4 separate regions of the Homo sapiens genome follow, and regions 1, 2 and 3 are each linked to region 4. The links are contacts of gene promoters, found by promoter capture Hi-C in human tissues and cell types (Jung and others, 2019). All regions are on one chromosome and are shown on one strand. The core of a region is centred on a gene start or on the middle of the fragment in contact, and the rest is flanking DNA. Distances in the headings are between cores, read along the strand shown. Region 1 holds the start of PVALB (parvalbumin). Region 2 holds the start of EIF3D (eukaryotic translation initiation factor 3 subunit D). Region 3 holds the start of NCF4 (neutrophil cytosolic factor 4). Region 4 holds the start of MFNG (MFNG O-fucosylpeptide 3-beta-N-acetylglucosaminyltransferase).

Region 1 (2,702 bases), core at 141-2,640, 670 kb before region 4:
AGGGGGAGGAGGGTTGACCTTCTTTCTTGGCCACAGACTTTGTTGCCAGAAAATTGACATAGAAAGGACAGGTTTCCCTCAAGGTCATACAGTGGGAGGAGGAGGGGCAAACCCGGAAGTCCTGGCTCTGCGCAGAAATCCACTTCGGAGGCAGTGGGAAGGGGGTGTTAGGAGGCTCCCGAGAAACACCCAGTTAAGTTTCTTCCCACATGGGCTTGAGGTGAAGGGAGAGGGTTATCCCAGGACCCTGGGAGGGTGGCTTCCCAGAGAGGTTCTTGTGCCCAGGGGAGGGGGTGCAAAGCAGAAAGGAAATGGGGGTCCTTTTCTACCTGCAATTTTCTGTATCTTGGGGTCCTGTTTTAGAACACCTGGGGAAGGGTACAATGTTAGATCATGTATTTTGTGTGTGTGTGTGTGTGTGTGTGTGTGTAGGGAATGGCTGTTGAAGTCATGTTCTCTTCCCCTCAGCACAGGGCTAGAGACAAGGAAAGTTGCCCTGTCCACCTCCGACACTAGGCTGGGCAACCCAGTTCTAATACCCCTTCTGCCCAGCTAGGTGACCTTGGGCAAATGTCTTGTCCTCTCCAAGACAGTTCCCTGATTTCCCCATCTGGAGGACAGGGGAGGAGGAAGGCGGGCAGCTTAGCGCTGAAGTCCCGGGCAGCTGGGAGAGGTGAGACTGCCAGTTCCCCTCCCCTGCCCGCCTAAGGAGGCTGGAGGTTTGAGGCACTGAGGATGCCCCGTGCGGGCTTAGGCAGAGCTGTGCGCCGGCTCCAGAAGGTCACCTCGCCCGCAGGTCCGTTGCTGAATCTCAGTAAAGGAACTAGGACAGTCAGGGGGCCAACAAAGGCTACCGCCTGGCGGGAAAAGTCCTGTCCAGAATGAGGGTCCAGGAAAGGGGTCTCTTGGAGAGGAGGATGCCCCCTGCAGTCCCCTCTAAGTGCCTTAAAGAGGACGTCCAGAGAGCTCGTACAAGGACCCTGGAGGTCTCTCCTCCGACCCTGGTCTTCGCCCTTGGTCCCGGACCCTGAGTCCTCCCAGCCACCGGGCCTTCAGCACCCTCAAGTTTCTGTAACTTAGGCGGGGCGCCCTCTTCCCCGCCCGCTCCCCGCGCCAAGCCTCGCCCGGACAGAGTTTGGGAACTGCCAAGGACGCCCCCGCCCCGACCTCGCCGGCGCCCAGCGGGAAGTGTGGGCAGAAGCGCGCTGGGGAGGATCCGCCGGCTGCGGGGCCGGCGGAGTGCAGGGGCGCGGGCGGTGGACGAGGGGAGAGGGATGGGGAGGGGAGCGCGCTTGCTCACCGCTAAAGGCTCCCACCGCCTTCTTGATGTCCTCAGCGTTCAGCAAGTCTGTCATCGACATCCTGCAACTGTTTGAGCGGGCAGAGCAAGTGCGAAAAGATTAAAAAGTGCTTTTCTCATCATTTCTGCTCATATGACCAGCGCTGCAGTGCTGCGCGCCGGGCGCACGCCCGCCGGGCCTGGCATGGCGCCAGGGGCCCGGACTCTGAGCGCAGCGGGAGCGGCTCAGTCCAGCCGCGCCGCTGAGCAGCGCCGGCCGCCGGCAAGAAGGCGCGCGGACCTGCTACCACTCCTGCACCGCCAGGCCAGGGGTCCGCGGGATCCCAGGGGCTGCGGCCAGGGCACGAGGGAAGGGGCCACCTCTGGGATTTAGGGGGCACTGGCGTCACCAGCTGGGTCTGGAAAGTCCACCTGCCGTCAAGGACACGCAGGAGGTGCGCCGTCTCAGATCTGGGAACCTTGGCGGATGTCCTGCCGCGTGGGGGAAGATCCTGAACCTTCAGCGGCCAGCCTGCACCTCAGGACCTCCTAGGCCCTGCTCCCTTTCTCTCTCCACTCCTACCTCAGCCTCTGCTCTGGTCTGTCCTGGATGCAAATTTATGCTGCAAAATCTGAGCGCTGAGGTCCTGAAACCTGACCCACCCGACGCAGGGAGGAGGTGGCAGGGACAGGGACAGGGACAGGCAGGAGCTGCTGGGGCCCACTTCGGGTGCCCCATCCCACATCTGGCCAGGGATGCATATTCTAAAACCTGATTTGATGTTTTACTTTTATTTTTTATTTTTTTGCTGGCTTGATTTTTCGAAGAACACTTCTCAGATCTCTACTAACTACTTGCTTTCCTGGTCTCCTGGGTCCTGGCATCATGGGTCCAGACTCCCCCTACTCCTATAAACCTTTTTTGGGCAGAGTAGGGTGGGAGAGTCCGCTTGGAATTGCTATGCTCCCTCCCAGAAAGCCCCATATGTGTTTGGAAGAAGGGTAGCACCTTCAGACCACACTTTCTAGACAACCTAAGCAGGTGTAGGGGTCTGAACTTCACCTCTGGAAAAATGTCACGGTGCCTATCTGTATGCAGCCAGAGACCCGTTGTGTTCTTCCCCATGGTTCCCAAGGTTTCAAGCTGCAACCAGCTGCTTCTAGAGTGTGTGAGCGCTGGACAGGGAGTCAGGAGGCCTGGGTTCTAGATCCTGGGCTGCACTAAGTCCCAGTGTGACCTTGGGTTGTGACCTTCTCTGGGCTTCTGTCTCCTTCTGATGTGTTGATGACGTCAGTGGTCCCATGTAGTGGGACCTGGGGACTGCAACTTAAGGTATTGGCAGGTAGGCAGGGCCTTGGGCTGTGGTGGCCCTGGGTGGTGGGGACCAGGGAGAGCAGCTGTCCAGCTGCCCAGTAACTCAAG
Region 2 (2,700 bases), core at 161-2,660, 960 kb before region 4:
AAGATCCTGCCATTACACTCCAGCCTGGGCAACAGAGCAAGACTCCGTCTCAAAAAAACAAAAATCAAATGTTTCTTGGAGGCTGGAGAGCAATCAAAAGAACAGGTATGCTGAACTTAGTAAACTCTCCTCAAAGCCCCATGCTGGGGAGATTGAGGCTTCCTTCAGAGATGACATTTGGGTGACAGCAACACAGGATGAACCTAGAAGTTTCATCTTTCTAATAGAAACTATAGGAAGAGGACAGAAGAAAAAGGGTGGTGGTCTCAGAACAATTTGTATTAAATAAATATTGCTGAGCTCCTACGTGTTAGGCCCTATACCAGATAATTTAACACCATTGACCACCCCCCCACCCCTACTTTAGAGGCAAAAATTTGAAGCTCAGCCTACTCAAGCAGCTGACCTCATCATTTCAAAACAGATTTGATTTCCAGGGTTGCCTGCTGTCAGTCCAGCCTTCTTTCCATTATATTACAGCTGGGCAGCAGCCCGCAAAGATCAGGGGTTTGAGACCGTACATCATAATACCAAGACAACGAGTCTCAAAACACACTTTAAAAAATCGGGTTCTGTCAGAAGCTCAAGAAGGGAAGAGGCCCGAGGCTCGACCTGCATCACCTCCCTGGAAAGCCAGGGATGAGATACCCTGGCTTTAATAAATGTTTTTTTTTTTAAGAGCAGAGCGGAACCAGGAGGAGAAACTGAGCCGCTCAGCAAAAACGAAGTAACAGCTGTACTAGTCACAGGGGCAGGATAGGGAGGTTCCAAGAGGGCACTCAGAAGGGGCTCTGTGGTTGGCAGGCCACTACAGATCATAAGCCGTCCATCGCTGAACAGGGGGTGGGGTAGATTTAAGATCAGAGATCAAATCTACTTCTCTATCCTAGCCTCCAGTTTCACAAAAAAGGAAAGATAACCTATGCACTGTGAATTCCTAAGAACAGGGGCCAAACACCGCTCAGCCTGGTACCCCTAAGACCTCACTCAAAAAGTCAGGGAGTTTTCGGCCACTTCAGAAAGACTTTGTTGTTACCCCTCCGTCTTAACCCAGGTGAGTTAAGTGACAATCAAATTCACCCAGCTCATGGGCACTGAGCAGGGCCGAGGGCCAAGGACCTCACCCACAAGGTCGTGTCCCGCGTTCAGTAGCGTGCGGGACGCGGGGCCCCCGAAAGTGGATTCCTGCCCCGCCCAGCGGAGGGACGGCAACAGCAGGAAGGGACTAAGAGAGGTCTCTTCCGGGAGGCCCCCCGAAGGCTGGACCTAGTCCGAACCGGCTCCGGAGGGCCGCAGGAACCTATGAAACACGCCGCTCACCTGCAATGGCCTCGGCCGGCCGGGATGGCAACAGATGGTGCGTGCCGGGGACCGCGTTAGCAGCAGCACTCTTGAGAAACCAGGAAAAGAGGAAACATGCGCGCGCAGCGGGCGCCGCCGTAAACACGACCGGCGCTGTCGTAAACTGCTCTCCCGCTTCCTCTGGGTTGGGCGGAAGAACTCACGAGCCGTAAAGCGAAGGTCCACCCGGAAATCCGTTACTGCGTTTCGCCAGGCGTCCTCATTAGCCTCCGAGGCGCCGAGACGCGAGAGGTGTGATTGGCACTACGTCAGGCGGTATCCGGGGACGCCCAAAGAGGGCGTTCATCACTGAAACTTGGCGGCCGCGCAATCGAAGCTCGAGGCGGGGAGCGACTGGCGCCCTTCTGTGTCCCACAATGCTTCGCGGCGCGCCTCAGCCCCCATGTATCCCACCGTCACCCGCGACTCCCCGCCTGTTCTACCTGCCTGCTTAATGTGAAACTCAGCGCAGGGGAGGTCCGTCGGTGTCTTAGGCGGTCCTTATTGTTACTCCTCCGCCTTTATAGTTGTGGAAACTGAGGCTCAGAAGTGCCAAGTGACCTGCCTAGATCAGACTGTTAGTTTAGGGTTCTAACCGCCAGAGTTCAAACCATACTTCCGCAGTTCTCAAACTTAATTGTAGGACAGGGATTTCTGGAACAGTGTTTTTATTTATTTTTATTTATTTTTTGAGACAGGGTTTCGCTCTGTCGCCCAGGCTGAAATGTAGTGGCAGGATCACGGCTTATTGCACCCTCGACTTCTCAGGTACAAGCGATCCTCCCAGTTCAGCCTCCCGAGTCGTTGGTGTACACAGGCACGCACAACCACGCCTGCCTAATTTTTGTATTTTTGGTAGAGATGGGGTTTTGCTATGTTGCTCAGGCTGGTCTCAAACTCCTGAGCTCAACAGTCCACCCACTGGGGCTAGGGTTACAGGCATGAGTCACCGTACCCGGCCAGCTAATGATTTTTAAAAATTTTGTAGAGACAGCGTCTCACTATGTTGCCCGGGCTGGTCTTTAACTCCTGGTCTAAAGTGGTCCTCTCGCCTCAGCGTGCGGAGCAGCTGAGGCTACAGGTGCATGCCACCATGCCTGGCTAATTTTTTTTTTTAGACGGAGTCTTGCTCTGTCTTCCAGGCTGGAGTGGAGTGCAGTGGCGCTATCTCAGTTCACTGCAACCTCCGCATCCCAGGTTCAGGTGATTCTCCTGCTTCAGTCTCCCGAGTAGCTGGGATTGCAGGCGTGTACCAACATGCCCGGCTAATTTTCCTTTTAGTAGAGACGGGGTTTCACCTTGCTGACCAGGCTGGTCTCGAACTCCTGACCTCAGGTGATCTACCCACCTCGGCCTCCC
Region 3 (2,769 bases), core at 270-2,769, 630 kb before region 4:
GATCTGGTACACACGTCCCTTGTTCCACCCATGGACTGTGAGAGGACCTCAGCTCCTGCCGTGACTCTAGGCTGATGGCTGAGAAACTCTGTTCCCATAATCAGTTCTGACACCCACTTTACACTGAGAACTCAGATTTGACTTTCTGCTAACAGCAGGACCTGTGGCCTGTACCTAGTCCCAGATTTGGCATTAAAATCTCAGCCCAACAATGCATATCCAATCTTGGTTTTCCCATGGGCTGTTGGCCACGTTCCTCTCCCCCTGGTATAGATTCCTGACCCCTCTCTTTGATCCTACCTAAAAATTATGCTTTCTTGTTTTTTTTAGCTGGGACTTGTATGTTTAAAGTAGTTTAAAACAACTTTCTGCTCTGCATGTATGAATACGAGTGTGTGAGCGTGTGTAGCTGGCAGGGAGTTACTGGGTGTGGCTGTGCCAATGACTCCTGTGGACCTCTTCTCAGAGAAGTCCCTTCAGAATCAAATACCCATACCTGTTAGGAGCTGCAGTCACTGACTGGCAGCGTTTCATTCATTCACTGAATATTGGTTGAGCACTTGCAATGTGCCAGGCACGCTGCTAGCCAAGGAGGCAGTCATTAAACATACAGATAAACAAACAAATGTGAGATGACAATAGTTATGAGTGCTCTGCAGTAGACGTGCAGGGACCTGTGAGAGAATGTAGTAGGGAGGGCCTTAATTTAGGGTGTGTGGTCAGGGAAGGCCTCGCTAAAGATGTAGCTTCTAAGCTGAGATGCAAAGGAGGCAGTGAAGAGCTTTTTCCAGCAGAGGGAACACCATGAGCATAGGCCTTGGGGCGGACGTCTTAGAACATTCTAGAAACGGAAAGGAGGCCAGTGAGAAAAAGGGAGCTCAGGAGCAGAGGCTGGGGAAGGCTGCAGGGCCTCAGGGGCATTGGAGGCAGGCAGGGCAAGGACTCTGGACTTTATCCTGAGCACAGGGTGATGGGGCAGGAGAGTTTAAGCAGGGAGGGTGAAACTCACTCTGATTGGCAGCCCTGTGAAAGAGGATTGGCTGGGCATGGAGATCTAAGGATGAGGAAAGGATATCCCAGAGTGCCAGGGCGCGCAAACCAAACTTCACACTCTAGGAAGACAGAGGCCAGAGGAACCAGGAGGGCTTCCTGGAGGAGGTGGCATTTACTCTGGGCCTAAGAGATCACAGGAAAATGGAGGCCAGCATTCTAGGCCTGGGGAAGAGTTTGGGCAAAGGCTTGGCAGTAAGAGAATAAAGGTGGGGCTTGATGGGCCAGAGGATAAGTGACTCCTCAAGGTCACAAGACACCCTGATGGCTGGGACCCCATCTCTGATGGAGCAAGGCTTCTGATACCCAACTGAGGCTTGGCGCCAAGGACTGACATCAAGGAAGTGGATTCCTGCAAACCTGGCACCCGAGGGTCCACTTCCTCAATTTCTGTGCAGCTGGGAGGTGAGGTAAGAGGAAGTGTGGGCCACAGGCTAGGCCCAGAGAGCCTGGAGGAGGAGCCTCTGCCAGACTGGAGAGAAGCAGGCCTGAGCCTCCCCAAAGGCAGCTCCTGGGGACTCCCAGGACCACAGGCTGAGACGAGACGCAGGGTGGCTGGAGGAAGTGAGAGGTGAACTCAGCCTGGGACTGGCTGGGCGAGACTCTCCACCTGCTCCCTGGGACCATCGCCCACCATGGCTGTGGCCCAGCAGCTGCGGGCCGAGAGGTGAGTGCCGGGGTGTGGCCGCCCCCGGGCCTTCTCACTGCTCCTCATAGGCCTTAGGGACAAAGGCCAGTCCTTCTGCAGTCCCTGATCAACATGAGAGGCTGGGGTTGAGTCAGAACCCAAATACTCAGAAATGCAACCTCTCAGAACTGCTTTAACGAAACTTTGAGCTGTGGCTCACCACCCTCAGACACAAATGAGAACACTGAGGCTCCAAGAGTGGGAGTGACTTGCCCACGGTCACACAACGAGTGACCGGCAGTGTCTGGAGAGGAATGCAGGTGTCCTGGGTCCCAGGCTGGGGCCCTTTGCTTCACATGGTGATCAGCAATGACTTTCCATCTTCTGCGCAAACAGAATTCACAGAATCTGGCTTGTTCTTCCGCTAATCAGGGCTTGCCTCAAATGTCACCTCCTCCAAGAAGCCTTCCTGACAGCCCCTACCTCATTGCTGTCTGACCCTTTGCCCTATTTCCCTTTTCTGCCTGGTTCTTATATTACAGGAATAATATTATATGCTCATTTATTATTTTTTCTTGAACGTTGGCTCCCCCATGAGAAGCAAGCTCCACGAGGCTGTGTCCGTTTTGATCGCTGCTGTATCACTAGGAGGTAGCTCATCCCTATTGAGCACCAGGACCAAGGGCTCAATAAATGTTGCTGAATGAATGAATAAATGAATGAATGAATGGGTGGATCTTTGAGACGGAAAAGGTCTTAGATTCTTCTAGTCCAACCTTGCCATTGTACAGATTGGAAATCTGAGGCCCAGGGAGGATAAGAGACTTACTCAGGGTCACAGAGAGTGACTGGCAAGGTTGGGGCTTGGAGCACGGCCTCACCAGCATCTAGCCTCGTCGCTTGGGAAGCATTTTCAGAATTTTTCCTCAGTAGCCAGGTCTGAGCTCTAAGCTGCGGGGGCCCTGAGGACGCAAAGCCTGGCCCCTGCACCCCCTGGATTGGAACAGCAGGTGACCTCTGTTACCTACGTGGAGGCCACTCAGGGGGTCACCAGAGACAGGCCAGGCTGGTGTGTGCCTACGCGGGGAACA
Region 4 (2,748 bases), core at 163-2,662:
TGTGTGTGTGTGTGTGTGTGTGTGTGTACCCATTCTCCACCTCCCCCATCAACGGTCCCTAACACCGACATCACTAACTTTGCTTAAGGAAGATACTGGATGCGAGGAGGGAAAGGGCTGGAAGGGACTTGGCTCGCCGGAGCCGCACAGCCATGTGACAGACATGCCTCTTGTCACACACATCTAGCACACTCCAGCTCCGTGCGTGTGAGCACACACACACACACACACACAATCCCACGTGCCAGGCAGGCCTCCCCAACCTCCGGCCCACCACTGCCTCAGCCGCCACCCTCGTGGCATGCGCTCTCCTTCCCTCCCTCGGAAGCAGTCCGCAGGAAGCCAACACAGGAGGCCAGACATGGCGGCCTCGGCACACCCGGGGCAGCAGAGACACAGCGGCAGGGGCTATCGGGAAGGCCGAAGGGATGCCTCCCCCAAGAACAGACCCCACCATTCTCCTCCCGTCCTCCACCCTCAGAGCCCGGGCAGGACAGCACCTAGGGCCTGGGTGGGACAGCCTGGCCTGGGCACGGGTCTGGGTCAGGACCTCTTGGAGGCCTCCACCCCAGCTGCCCAACACCCACCATTACCCCTGATGCCAGGCTGGGCCTGGGTGGCTAGGAGCGAAGCCCCCACGGGAGCGGCTAGGAATAGAAGAACCCCCAGGAGGGACCCGGGAGCCTGGAGCAGGGGCCCAGCCTGGCCCCCAAAAGTGGTGGAGCGGTAGGACCTGGGTGCACCTGGAGTCAGGACCAGTACAGGGCACGGGCAGGGCCGCAGGCAGCCCCTAAAGCCCGGAAGAAGGAGAGAGGAAGAGGATCCCTGATTAGGCAGGTATTGAGCAGCTTCTCCCATGAGGCAGTCAGGGACCCCAGCCCAGTAGAAAGGCCTCTGAGAACCCCTTAGGCCAGGGGCCACCCCCAGGGCCCAATGTCACCCACTTGTCACCTGTTCCCTGGTCCTGGAAACCCACGTGTCAAGCAGCAGCTCCAGGCGCAAGCGGTGGAAAGCCCGGGTCGTCTTCACTGCAATGAAGACATCGTGTAGCTGTAGCTTAGGGGGCCCCGGGTTCGGCTGGCTCAGCTCGGGGGTCCCTTGTACCCGCTGCGGGGACAGGTTCAAGTGGTACCGCAGACACAGGAGCCCCATGCACAGGAGGGTGAGGAGGGCTCCAGCCAGGCCCCGCGGGAGCCGGCACTGCATTGGTTGGCCCTGGGACCCCAGACAGCTCAGCCCCCAAATCCCAACCAGACAGGGAGGGGAAGCTGGTCAGGCAGGGGCTCCAGCAGAGGCAAAAGTCTGGCAGGCATCAGGGGCTGGCAAGGAGGGAAGAGGTAGGAGCTGAGGCTCTGGACCCAGAGGCTGAGCCATGGCAGCACGATCTCGACCGCCGCCAGTCCTCCACCTGCTCCCGCTGTCCGGCCTGCCGCAGCCTCCGGGACCGCCTGGCCCCGCCCCGCTTAGCCCGAGGGGCGGGGCCAGACGAAGGGAACCCCAGACAGAGGCGGCTGAAAGGAGGCACCAGCAGAAAGGGCAGCCCCGGCTCTGCCAGCTGCTGCGGTGGGAGGAAGTCACAACAAACCCTCCGTGCCCGGTGGAAGGGAGTGTCCTCCAGCACCGTCCACTCCCCCAGAGAGCTGTCAGCTCGGCCCATTCAACACCCATTACTTTGGTGTCCTGCTTCACCCAGCCCCCAGCTTTTGCTCACAGGTTTCCTCCGGGATGCTCTCCCATATTCCACCAGCCTCACCCACATTCCCTCCACTAGGCTGAGTTCTATCTGGACTTCAAAGCTTAAGGGTTCCCTCCTCCAGGAAGCCTTCCGTGATAACCTCTTAACCTCTGGGGCTCCCACAGTTGTTCGCTCAGTTCCTGAGGTCTTCACAACAGCACTGGGACTGTCGTTCCCAGTTTATAGCTGAAGACATAAGGCACAAAGGCACAGAATGAGCAAAAACGATCCAGCAACTCAGCCGCAGAGCTGGCAGAACCCAGGTCTCTGTTCCTCATCTAGTTCACAGGAGGTCCCCTGAGGGCACCTGTCCAGCTGTGCCCCAGCCCATACCCGACCTCACTCCGCAGTCTCTGGAGCTGCCTCTCTCCCAGCACCTGACCAGTGGACAGACAGAGGGCCTTCTCCAGCCACCACCTCCATCTTGTTTCGCACAAGCTCACTCACACCTCCTCCCTCCTCCACTCAGAGCCTGCACTGGCTCCCATTTTCTTCAGAACAAAAGCCAAAACGCACACAGCAGCCCACAAGGCCCTGCGTGAGCTGGCTCCCAAGTTACTCCCACCCCATCTCCTGCTACTCACCCTGCTCCACTCCAGAACCTGGGACCCTCGCTGGCCCAGGCACCTGGCCGCCACAGGACCTTGGCACTTGCTGTTCCCACCTGGGCCCCTCCCTAGAGACCTGCACGTCTCACTCCCCCACTCCCTTCTGGTCTTTACACAAAGGTCACCGTCTCTGTGAGGCCTTCCCTGACCACGTTATTAACATTGCAACCCCTCGCCGCCTCCTTCCCAGCCCCCCAGGCCTGTCCCTCTCAAGCCACTTCACTGTTTTCTTCATCACACTTTTCATCTTCCAACATTCTGTATGTTTAACTAAGTTTCTGTCCTCCTCATGAGAATATCAGGGCAGGATTTATTTTTTGATCACTGAGTCCCTAATCCCCAGTGCCTAGAACAGTGACCGGCAGACAAGAACTCAATCAATGTTAATTCAACACAACAAAGTAC

Evidence for each region. The method cuts DNA at HindIII sites, captures the fragments that hold promoters and counts their contacts. A contact is called where the count stands out against the background at its distance.
Region 1: the fragment with the promoter of PVALB here is called in contact with the fragment with the promoter of MFNG in region 4 in 2 of the 25 tissues and cell types used here (dorsolateral prefrontal cortex and spleen).
Region 2: the fragment with the promoter of EIF3D here is called in contact with the fragment with the promoter of MFNG in region 4 in 2 of the 25 tissues and cell types used here (lymphoblastoid cells and mesendoderm cells).
Region 3: the fragment with the promoter of NCF4 here is called in contact with the fragment with the promoter of MFNG in region 4 in 1 of the 25 tissues and cell types used here (spleen).

Annotation. Positions count from the first base shown.
Region 1 is chr22:36,815,645-36,818,346 of GRCh38, forward strand. It overlaps PVALB (parvalbumin), which reads right to left and starts at 1,391. Exons shown (of 4, transcript NM_001315532.2): 1 at 1,301-1,391. The coding sequence starts at 1,361. The HindIII fragment of the contact is 41,984 bases long and covers 1-2,702 here.
Region 2 is chr22:36,527,756-36,530,455 of GRCh38, forward strand. It overlaps EIF3D (eukaryotic translation initiation factor 3 subunit D), which reads right to left and starts at 1,411. Exons shown (of 15, transcript NM_003753.4): 1 at 1,321-1,411. RefSeq lists enhancers at 922-971, 1,282-1,681. The HindIII fragment of the contact is 12,569 bases long and covers 1-2,700 here.
Region 3 is chr22:36,859,487-36,862,255 of GRCh38, forward strand. NCF4 (neutrophil cytosolic factor 4) reads left to right here and starts at 1,520. Exons shown (of 10, transcript NM_000631.5): 1 at 1,520-1,717. The coding sequence starts at 1,686. All of the region lies in intron 1 of NCF4-AS1 (NCF4 antisense RNA 1), which reads right to left. The HindIII fragment of the contact is 13,239 bases long and covers 1-2,769 here.
Region 4 is chr22:37,484,972-37,487,719 of GRCh38, forward strand. It overlaps MFNG (MFNG O-fucosylpeptide 3-beta-N-acetylglucosaminyltransferase), which reads right to left and starts at 1,413. Exons shown (of 8, transcript NM_002405.4): 1 at 952-1,413. The coding sequence starts at 1,206. RefSeq lists enhancers at 298-357, 758-807, 1,284-1,793, 1,794-2,305, 2,306-2,748 and 1 more and a silencer at 1,378-1,507. The HindIII fragment of the contact is 15,221 bases long and covers 1-2,748 here.